2 separate regions of the Homo sapiens genome follow, and region 2 is linked to region 1. The links are contacts of gene promoters, found by promoter capture Hi-C in human tissues and cell types (Jung and others, 2019). All regions are on one chromosome and are shown on one strand. Each heading gives the region's core, a stretch centred on a gene start or on the middle of the fragment in contact. The rest is flanking DNA. Distances are from core to core; before and after follow the strand shown.

Region 1 (4,589 bases), core at 768-3,267:
TGTGATTAATAACATCACTCTAAATTAGGCAAATCACCCATCTACTTTATCCGTAATAAAGATCCTCCCACTAACCTTGCAAAGCTATTCTGAGTATTCAAGTGGGCCTGTAAGAGAACTTCAAAGCTTATTAGTATTTAATGATTATTTCTCATATAGTACCCATATCACTTGTTAGAGATCCCTGCAAGTTAAAGGCATATATTTAAAAACCTTCCTTTACAGAGCTTGGTAAAAAGTAAATTAAGATGAAAAATAATAAAGCTATAATATTAATAGTTAATAATAGGTCTGGTTGTTTAAAAACCAGATGTTTAAAACCTAAACTAGCTTTGATTCTTATGCCATTTCACAAATAAGAAATGCTCCTGTATGCATGATCTTTTAGAACTACAGCTTTTTAAAATGAGGTTGCCATAGAATGGATTTTCTCTTATATTAAGGACATTTAGAATGGAAGTAGTTTTCTTGAGTAATATAGTTTTAGCTCCCAAACTCAGGGAAGGTTGGAATTGTATGAAATAAAAATTGTCAGTTGACCTTAACCTGCTTTAGACATAATGTGCTTGGAAATAAAACTTGCTAGGAAAAGCAACTCATACCAAAAAAAGTTTATTATAGAAGTGATAAACATTTCATTAAAAAAGAAAAAAGCAAAAAACCAGCATGTCCTATCCCTGAGAGTTCAGGGTCCCGACTCTAATAAAACTCCCAACAAGGGGTTTGAGTGGATCTACCAGGCAGAGAGAGGGGCCAGGGAAACTCAAGCCTTCCCTGAACAGAAAGGTTTTGACTATTAAATAACGTTATAGAATACATTATTATAAAAAATTACTTGTCAGTTGGACTTAGATCCACAAAAGGATATTAATTAAATGCTAAATGTATTCAATCTATTAGGATTCTCAAAAGTCACACTTCAATTTCTTCCAGCAGCAACTGCCAATCTGAAAAAGTGTTTGAAAATGTAATGCTTATGGGTAGAAGCCTGGTAATGTGACTCAATTTAAATTCATCTGGATAGGAAAATTGGCAGCTTTTATCTAACCTTATAGCCAAGATGATGGAACTCAGGTGTGTCAGGGCCCTCTAGCTTTCGGCAAAGGAAAAAAGTAGGTCCCGGTACAATTCAAGCCCACAGGAAAAATACCCAAAACACCATAACACTTTGATCTCTGCAAGGATGAAATAAATGAATTTGGACCCTTTTCTCTCAGTCTGCCACATTGGTCCAAATTATATTCAAAAACCTCTGTTACATTTGAGTAAAGAAATTAATTTTTTAAGGGGACAAACCCATTTATTAGTGAACGTAGCATGGAAGACTTAGCGTGCCGAAATAAATGGGAAACTCATACAAAAAGAAATGTGAACAATCTGAAAAACAGCCTGGCAGTTGCCTGATGAAACACGCCGTACACTTTACTGCCTACAGAACCCTTCCAGTCCTCCTCCCAGCCGCCATCACAGGTCCCTTAGTTGGCAAGGAGTTGTAAGAAAGGGGGAGGGAAATCCCAGGAACGTGGAAGTAGATAACTCTCTAGCAATGAAGAGCACTCGGGGATCGCTCGCTGAGTACTAGGCCTAGTGCTCTGGGGGCTCACTTGACAGGCGCCATCTCGGAAGCGCTTTCCTACACTTCTCCCACCCCGGGGCAGGGAGGGGTTAGGGGAGGGCGGAATCCAGACGGGGAAAGGCGGGCCGGAGAGGACCGGCCGCAGGGCCAGGGACGCGGGCGAAGCAGTGAGCTCCGGAGAAGAGAAAAGCAGCCCCGGTTGGGACGGAGAAGCTCGGAGCAGATGAGAGAAGCGACAGGGGAGCTGTGGGGCCGACGGACTCGCCTCTGAGAGCGGTCCCCGGGCACACTCACCGTCGGGCGTCGGAGCAGCGCCATGAGGGACGGGGAAGGCAAGAGTGCCAGCCCGGCCCAGGGAGGGACGCGGACTGAAAAGGGAGGACACTAGCGTACGAGGCGCCGTTAGGACTGCTCTCCGAGCCCGCAGCGCTGGGGATCTTCGACGCTGTAGCCTTGTTCCAGGATTCAAATACCGCGTCGCTTGCGCCCCATTGGGCGGCCCTGCGCACGGGTCGCTGTTCTCATTGGCCAACACAAGATGCACTCTCGCACTCTCATTGGCTGAATTTTCTTAGACACGTTTGATTGTCACAACAGCCGGTTGGGGTGTTTTTTCTGCCTACAGTCTTTTAAAAAAAAAAAAACCCCAGTCTCTGAGACAAACAAAAAGGAACTGTCTCATTGGGAAAGCAGACGTAGGACGCCTCTGAATTTTGACAAGGCCTCATCTACGAATTTCTCTCGACGTTTGTAGTGGGTGGGCGGAAGTTGGTTGGCCTTTATTCCTCTTCTGGTGTGTTGGGGTTTAAGTTGTGTTGGCCTGGGTGCAGGAACCGGCCCCTCCGGGTTGCTCAGGGATGCAGTGTGTTAGGTGGTTGAGATGCAAAAGTGTGCTTAAAAAAAGAGAGAATAATGGCGTTTACTCAAAAACCCAAATTCTCAAGTAAGGCAAAAAAAAAAAAAAAAAGATAAAAGAGATTTGTGTGACTGGTGATTCATGTAAGTTCTCCATTGTATTCCCAACACCTAGTACATCGTTTGTCGTATATGGTTGGTGCTCAATAAATGTTCGTCTAATAATCAGCCCAAGCAAAGAATTCATGTCTAAGACCCCAAAAGCAAATGCAACAAAAACAAAAATACATAAATGGGACCTAATTAAACTAAAAAGCTTCTGCACATCAAAAGAAATAATAGACAACCACAGATTAAGAGAAAATATTTGCAAACTATGCATCGGAAAAAGGCCTAGTGTCCAGAATCTAGAAGGAACTCAAATCAGCAAGAAAGAAAATAATGCCATCAAAAAATGGGCAAAGGACATGAATAGATATTTCTCAAAAGATATTCAAATGGCCAACAAATACATGAAAAAATGCTCAACATCACTGATCATCGAAGAAATGCAAGTTAATACCACAAGGAGATACCACCTTACTCCTGCAAGAATGGCCATCATTAAAAAGTCAGAAAAAAAGGCCGGGCGCAGTGGCTCACACCTGTAATCCCAGCACTTTGGGAGGCCTGTTGGGCAGATCATTTGAGCCCAGGTGTTCAAGACCAGCCTGGGCAACATGGCAAAACCCCGTCTCTACAAAAATACAAATATTAGCCGGGTGTAGTGGTGAGCACCTGTAGTCCCAGGTACTGGGAGGGGGGCGGGGGGCGGGGGGCGGGGGGCCGTGTGTTGGGGCAGGAGGATCCCTTGATCCCATGAGTCTGAGGCTGCAGTGAGCCATGATTGTGCCACAGTACTCCAGCCTGGGCAACACATTGAAACCCTGTCTAAAAAAGAAAAAAAACCTCAAAAAACAATAGTCAAAAAACAGTGTAGGCGTGGATGTGGGGAAAAGGGAATGCTTAAACACTGCTGGTAGGAATGTACAACTTCTATGGAAAAAAGTATGGTGATTCCTTAAAGAACAAAAAGTAGTTCTACCATTTGGTCCAGCAATTCCACTACTGGGTATCTACCCAAAGGAAAAGAAGTCATTATATGAAGAAGACACTTGCACATGTATGTTTACAGCAGCACAATTCACAATTGCCAACCTAAGTGCCCATCGACCGAGTGGGTACAGAAAATGTGGTATATATACACCATGGAATACTACTCAGCAATAAAAAGGAACAAAATAATGTCTTTTGCAGCAACCTGGATGGAGCTAGAGGCCATTATTCTAAGTGAAGTAACTCAGGAGTGGAAAACCAAAAACCGTATGTTTTCACTTGTAAGTGGGAGCTAAGCTGTGAATATACAAAGGCAAACACAGTGATATAATGGAATTTAGAGACTCAGAAGAGGGAGGGTGGAAGGGGAGACAGGGATAGAAACCTACATATTAGATAAAATATACACTACCTAGGTGATGGGCACACTAAAATCTCAGAATTCACCACTATATAATTCACCCACATCACAGAAAGCCACTTATATCCCAAAAGCTACTGAAATAAAATTTAAGTGTATTAATTAAAAAATATTCATCTAATAAATGATCTTATGATGTATGTAAGATTTAAGAATGAAAAACAAGGTGTGACACCAGTCTTGAGCAGAAGAGTGGGAGGATTAGCACAGTCCAAAGAGAACAGTATTAATGTTGCCCTTGTAAAAAGAAGCAGGTGAAGATCAAGACAGAAAAAGAAACAGGAAAGGAAAAAGTGAGATTAATGGGAAAAGAGAAGGAAAAGAGGAAAGGAGTGATCTAACACCCATGATATCAGGTTCCATTAAGAATCTGAAGGCCTGGCATGGTGGCTCACACCTGTAATCCCAGCACTTTGGGATGCTGAGGCAGGTGGATCACTTGAGGTCAGGAGTTCAAGATCAGCCTAGCCAACATGGTAAAAACCAGTCTCTATTAAAAATACAAAAATTAGCTGGGCGTGGTGGTGCAGGCCTCTAATCCCAGCTACTCGGTAGGCTGAGGCAGGAGAATCGCTTGAACCTGGAAGACAGAGGTTGCAGTGAGCCGAGTTCGCACCACTGCATTCCAGCCTGGGCAACAGA
Region 2 (4,589 bases), core at 1,165-3,664, 310 kb before region 1:
GAGGTGTGAACATACAAAACACCCCTGAATAGAACACTTTGTTTTATTTTTAATTTATTTTAGAGACAAGGTCTCACTCTGTCACCCAGGCTGGGGTGCAGTGGCCTGATCATAGCTCACTTCAGCCTCGAACTCCTGGGCTCAAGTGATACCCTAATCTCAGGGATACTACAAGCTGGTACTACAAGCATGTGTCACCATGCCTGGCTAATTCTTTTTATTTTGTGTAGAGACAGGGTCTCACTATGTTGGCCAGGCTAGTCTTGAACTCCTGGACTCAAGCAATCCTCCTGCCTCGGACTCCCAAAGTGCTAGGATTACAGACATGAGCCACTGTGCCTGGCCCACTTAAAAATACTTTAAAATGCTTAATTTTATGTTATGTGAAATTTCACCTCAATTAAAAAAAATACAATGAACACCTGTTATGTACCTTATTTTGTTTAAAAGATATGGCCATATGAACTTTCTTTTCCTTTCCTGGTCAAAAATATCAAATTAAAGTGGATATAAATAGGTGACAGATGATAGATAGATAGATAGATAGATAGATAGATAGATAGATAGATAGATAGATAGAGGGTTGAGGGTTTAATCTGTCCCCAAGGATAACAGCTTTAAAACCTCAATGCTTTTTTGGTAGGTAGTTAGGTAGGTAGATAGATAGATAGATAGATAGATAGATAGATAGATAGATAGATAGACAGATAGATAGATAGACAGACAGACAGACAGATAGATAGTTTAAGGGTTTAATCTGTCCCCAAGGATAAGAGCTTTAAAACCTCAATACTTTTTCCCAAGAAGGACCAAGGACTCCAGGTATAGGCCAGCAATAAATACAAGGTATAGCCAGGCAGCAACGGCAAAGTAGGGCACAATTACAAGTAAGGATTTAGACTGACATTTTAGACAAAAGAGCAGAAATTCGGGAGAGGCTCCTGTGAGGAAAGCAGACTTGGGGGAAGTCTTAAGCAGCACCAGGGAGAGCTCCCAGCCCGTCGTATATACGCTCCTGCTATACGCTAAGCTGCCCATTTTCCTCCAGAAACTAAGGTCCTCCCCAGGTTGTCCTGCCTTTAAAGCAGAGCCATCATGGACTTAAGGACCTTTCTGACCTACAGTGATGGGGTCCACATCTACTCCCACACAAGAATCTTTGTTCAAGCTGTCAGGGATCTGCCTTTCCACTGAGCTCCAATTCTACCTAGAACATTGCCCGTCGAAGTGTGATCTATGCACAAGAACACGAGCCCCTCTACTGTTAGGAATGCAGAGTTCAAGGGTCCCAACCTGGGTCTACAGGATCAGAATCTGCATTTTAACAAGACCTCCTGCTGATTCGTATGCACATTTAAGTCTGAGAAGTACTGGCCTAGAGAACGTGACCCCACCAGAACACAGTAGAGCACGTTCTTCAAGAGCCTTCCTGGCCGGGCGCGGTGGCTCACGCCTGTAATCCCAGCACTTTGGGAGGCCGAGGCGGGCGGATCACGAGGTCAGGAGATCGAGACCATCCTGGCTAACACGGTGAAACCCCGTCTCTACTAAAAATACAAAAAATTAGCCGGGCGAGGTGGCGGGCGCCTGTAGTCCCAGCTACTCGGGAGGCTGAGGCAGGAGAATGGCGTGAACCCCAGGGGGCGGAGCCTGCAGTGAGCCGAGATTGCGCCACTGCACTCCAGCCTGGGCGACAGCGAGACTCCGTCTCAAAAAAAAAAAAAAAAAAAAAAAAAAAAAAAAAAAAAAAAAGAGCCTTCCTTGGCTTCGTCACTGGATGAGTGATACTGGGGGTAGGAACCCTGTCATTAAAATCATTGGGATTATACAATAAATCTTATAAAGCACTGGGAAGAAATGTGATAAAAATGAAGAAACGAAAGGAAAAATTCTCTCTAGGCTGACATTTGGTATGCAACAACATGCAACTGGTATTTGGTATAAAATGTGTTTGTTTTTCCGTTAGACTCAGCTGTCCTAATTTGAAAGAGCCTCCAAAAATATCAGTTGCTATTTAGCTTCCCTTAGTTAAGGGTTGTTTAATTTTGTTAGACAATGAAGCTAATTCTCATCACTGCAACAGGAAGAACAATGACATGAACCCACAAAAGATGTCCCCGCCTACATATGGTTACAGTGGCATAAGCTGGGGACACAGTGACTAAAGTCAAGTCCTAGTCACTTAAACTTACCAGGGTATAATGGGGATTGCCAGAATCAGCGCTAGAAGCTGCATGTAAGAGATGTGTTTCCTGCTTGTGTTTGTTTCTTGAATTGTAATTTCCTAGCAGGAACATTTTTGCCCTGCTTCTTAGATGGCAGTCCCTAAAGAGTCATTCTCCATTTTTATCCTGCAATGGATTTTCTATGCCAGGATTTCAGGTAAATTCTCTGTGAATCAATCCAGTATGCATGAGGCATTGGCTCTGAGTCCAGCTCTGGGCTAGGGAGTGTGAAGGGGAAAGGGGCTGGGTGGCAAGACCCAAAATACATTCCAGCTGCATGATCCCTAACCTCCAGAGGGGCAGAGCTGTAGTTGGTTTTTGGTTTCTTTGTTTGTTTTTTTGTTTTTTAGATGGAGTCTCGCTCTGTTGTCCAGGCTTGAGTACAGTGGTGTGATCTCGGCTCCCTGCAATCCAGCTCCAGGAGTGATTCTCAAGCAATTCTCCTGCCTCAGCCTCCCAAGTAGTTGAGATTACAGGCGTCCGCCAGCACGCCCGGCCAATTTTTGTATTTTCAGTAGAGACAGGGTTTCACCATGTTGGCCAGGCTGGTCTCGAACTCCTGACTTCAAGCAATCTGCCCGCCTCGGCCTCCCAAAGTACTGGGATTACAAGCTTGAGCCACCGTGCCCGGCCTGTTGTTTTTTAATAGAATTCAAACACAGGAAACCATTGGGAAGAAATGAAAGAGAGGGTAATGAAGTACTAAATAATGTGGTTCACACTTCAAGTACTGTAGAAGGTCAGAAAAGAATGAGTTCTTTCCTATGAAAAGAGGAGAGGAAACTTAAAATGGTCCTTGATGAACGTGTTGCAATTTCATACATAGAAGAGAGATTAGGGGAAGTTTCTAGGGAGGAAACAGGGAGTTCAAAGGCACAAAAGTGAGAGTTATTTAATATCTCTTATTGTATCTTCCACTTCCCTAAATGAGAAGAATAACAGGATTTGTTTTAGTTAAATCATAGGTTTTTATGAGAGGGTTAAATGAGATGGTTTTTGTAATTGCTTTATAGATTAAAGGGTTATTCAAATTATTCCTTACTACTGCTGATATTATCGTTGTTATGGGCGTGCCTACTGTGTTCAGGACATTACCCTAGGCCTACAGATAATCGAACTGATGAAATGATTTTAGTAACCAACTACCAGTGACTTAAAACCAGAATACCAGTTTCTAATTTCTACAACTTAGGATGAAACCAGCCAAGAGATTTGAATCAGTCTTCTGCCTAAGACATTTTTTTTCTACAGCCAGTCTGTTCAGAAATCAAATTGTAGATCAGAAGGATAATGATGACAATATTAACACTGGTCATCATTAATTGTATATCAATGGACAGGGCTGTCTGCACACATGCCCTTGCTAATTCCTCACAGCAGTTCTGTGAGGAGGAGACATCACCTCCATTCTGCAGGAAAGGAAACTGGGGCTCAGATAATTTAAATAAGCTATCCATCTTCAGAACTAATAACTGATGAGCCTGGATTTAAACACATGCTTGTCTGGCTTCAAAGCCTAAGCTCTTTCCCCATGTTAGCAGACATGAAGAGGAAATCGAGCAAGGAAAGTCGCCCTTTACGGTTTTTCCTACCATGCCTGGGTAACATGAACAACAAATTGGGAGGAAAAAATAGCTGAATACATGAACTAAACTGAACATTGCACCAAGCTTGGGAAACACCTTCATAACCTGGATCGAGCTATTGATTAGACCAGATTCTAACACCCTTTCTAAACTTTCTTGCTCTACTTTTGGGGAGAATGGATTCAAGAGAACCAACCAGCTTGCCCTTGTAAATTACAGGGGTAAAAATGTTTTCTAAACAGGAAAAGGCAGGGTTATAGCTGATGAGTTTGATTGATTGTAAAACTCAGTTAGATAAATTGCATCCAAAGAACTTCTTCTCCACGTAAGGTAGCTTTTCTGTTGTCACTGTTTGTTGCCTCTGCCCCCATAGCTCATTTCTCATCACAGCCTCACAACTACCTCACAGCTCACATCGTGCCCTCAATGTGCTTGCACTGTGAAGAGAATGCTACCGTATTTGTGCTCTAGAAGAGAAGAAAGTGTCAGCTTGTCTTCCCGACAAAGTTAGATAAAAAATCCTATTTTAAAAGGATGAGTTCATATCCTTTGTAGGGATATGGATGAAACTGGAAACCATCATTCTCAGCAAACTATCACAAGGACAGAAAACCAAACACCACTTGTTCTCACTCACAGGTGGGGAATGAACAATGAGAACACTTGGACACAGGAAGGGGAACATCACACACCGGGGCCTGTCGTGGGTTGTGGGGAGGGAGGAGGGATAGCATTAGGAGATAAACCTAATGTAAATGACGAGTTAATGGGTGCAGCA

What was found. The method cuts DNA at HindIII sites, captures the fragments that hold promoters and counts their contacts. A contact is called where the count stands out against the background at its distance.
Region 2: a contact is called between a fragment that was not itself captured here and the fragment with the promoter of CCNB2 in region 1, in 2 of the 25 tissues and cell types used here (H1 embryonic stem cells and pancreas).

What each region holds. Positions count from the first base shown.
Region 1 is chr15:59,102,574-59,107,162 of GRCh38, reverse strand. CCNB2 (cyclin B2) reads right to left here and starts at 2,017. Exons shown (of 9, transcript NM_004701.4): 1 at 1,871-2,017. The coding sequence starts at 1,894. RefSeq lists an enhancer at 2,205-2,494. The HindIII fragment of the contact is 5,327 bases long and covers 1-4,544 here.
Region 2 is chr15:59,417,861-59,422,449 of GRCh38, reverse strand. It overlaps a transcript of FAM81A not described here. Among named protein-coding and RNA genes, the nearest start is that of FAM81A, 18 kb to the left of the region's middle. The HindIII fragment of the contact is 6,339 bases long and covers 1-4,589 here.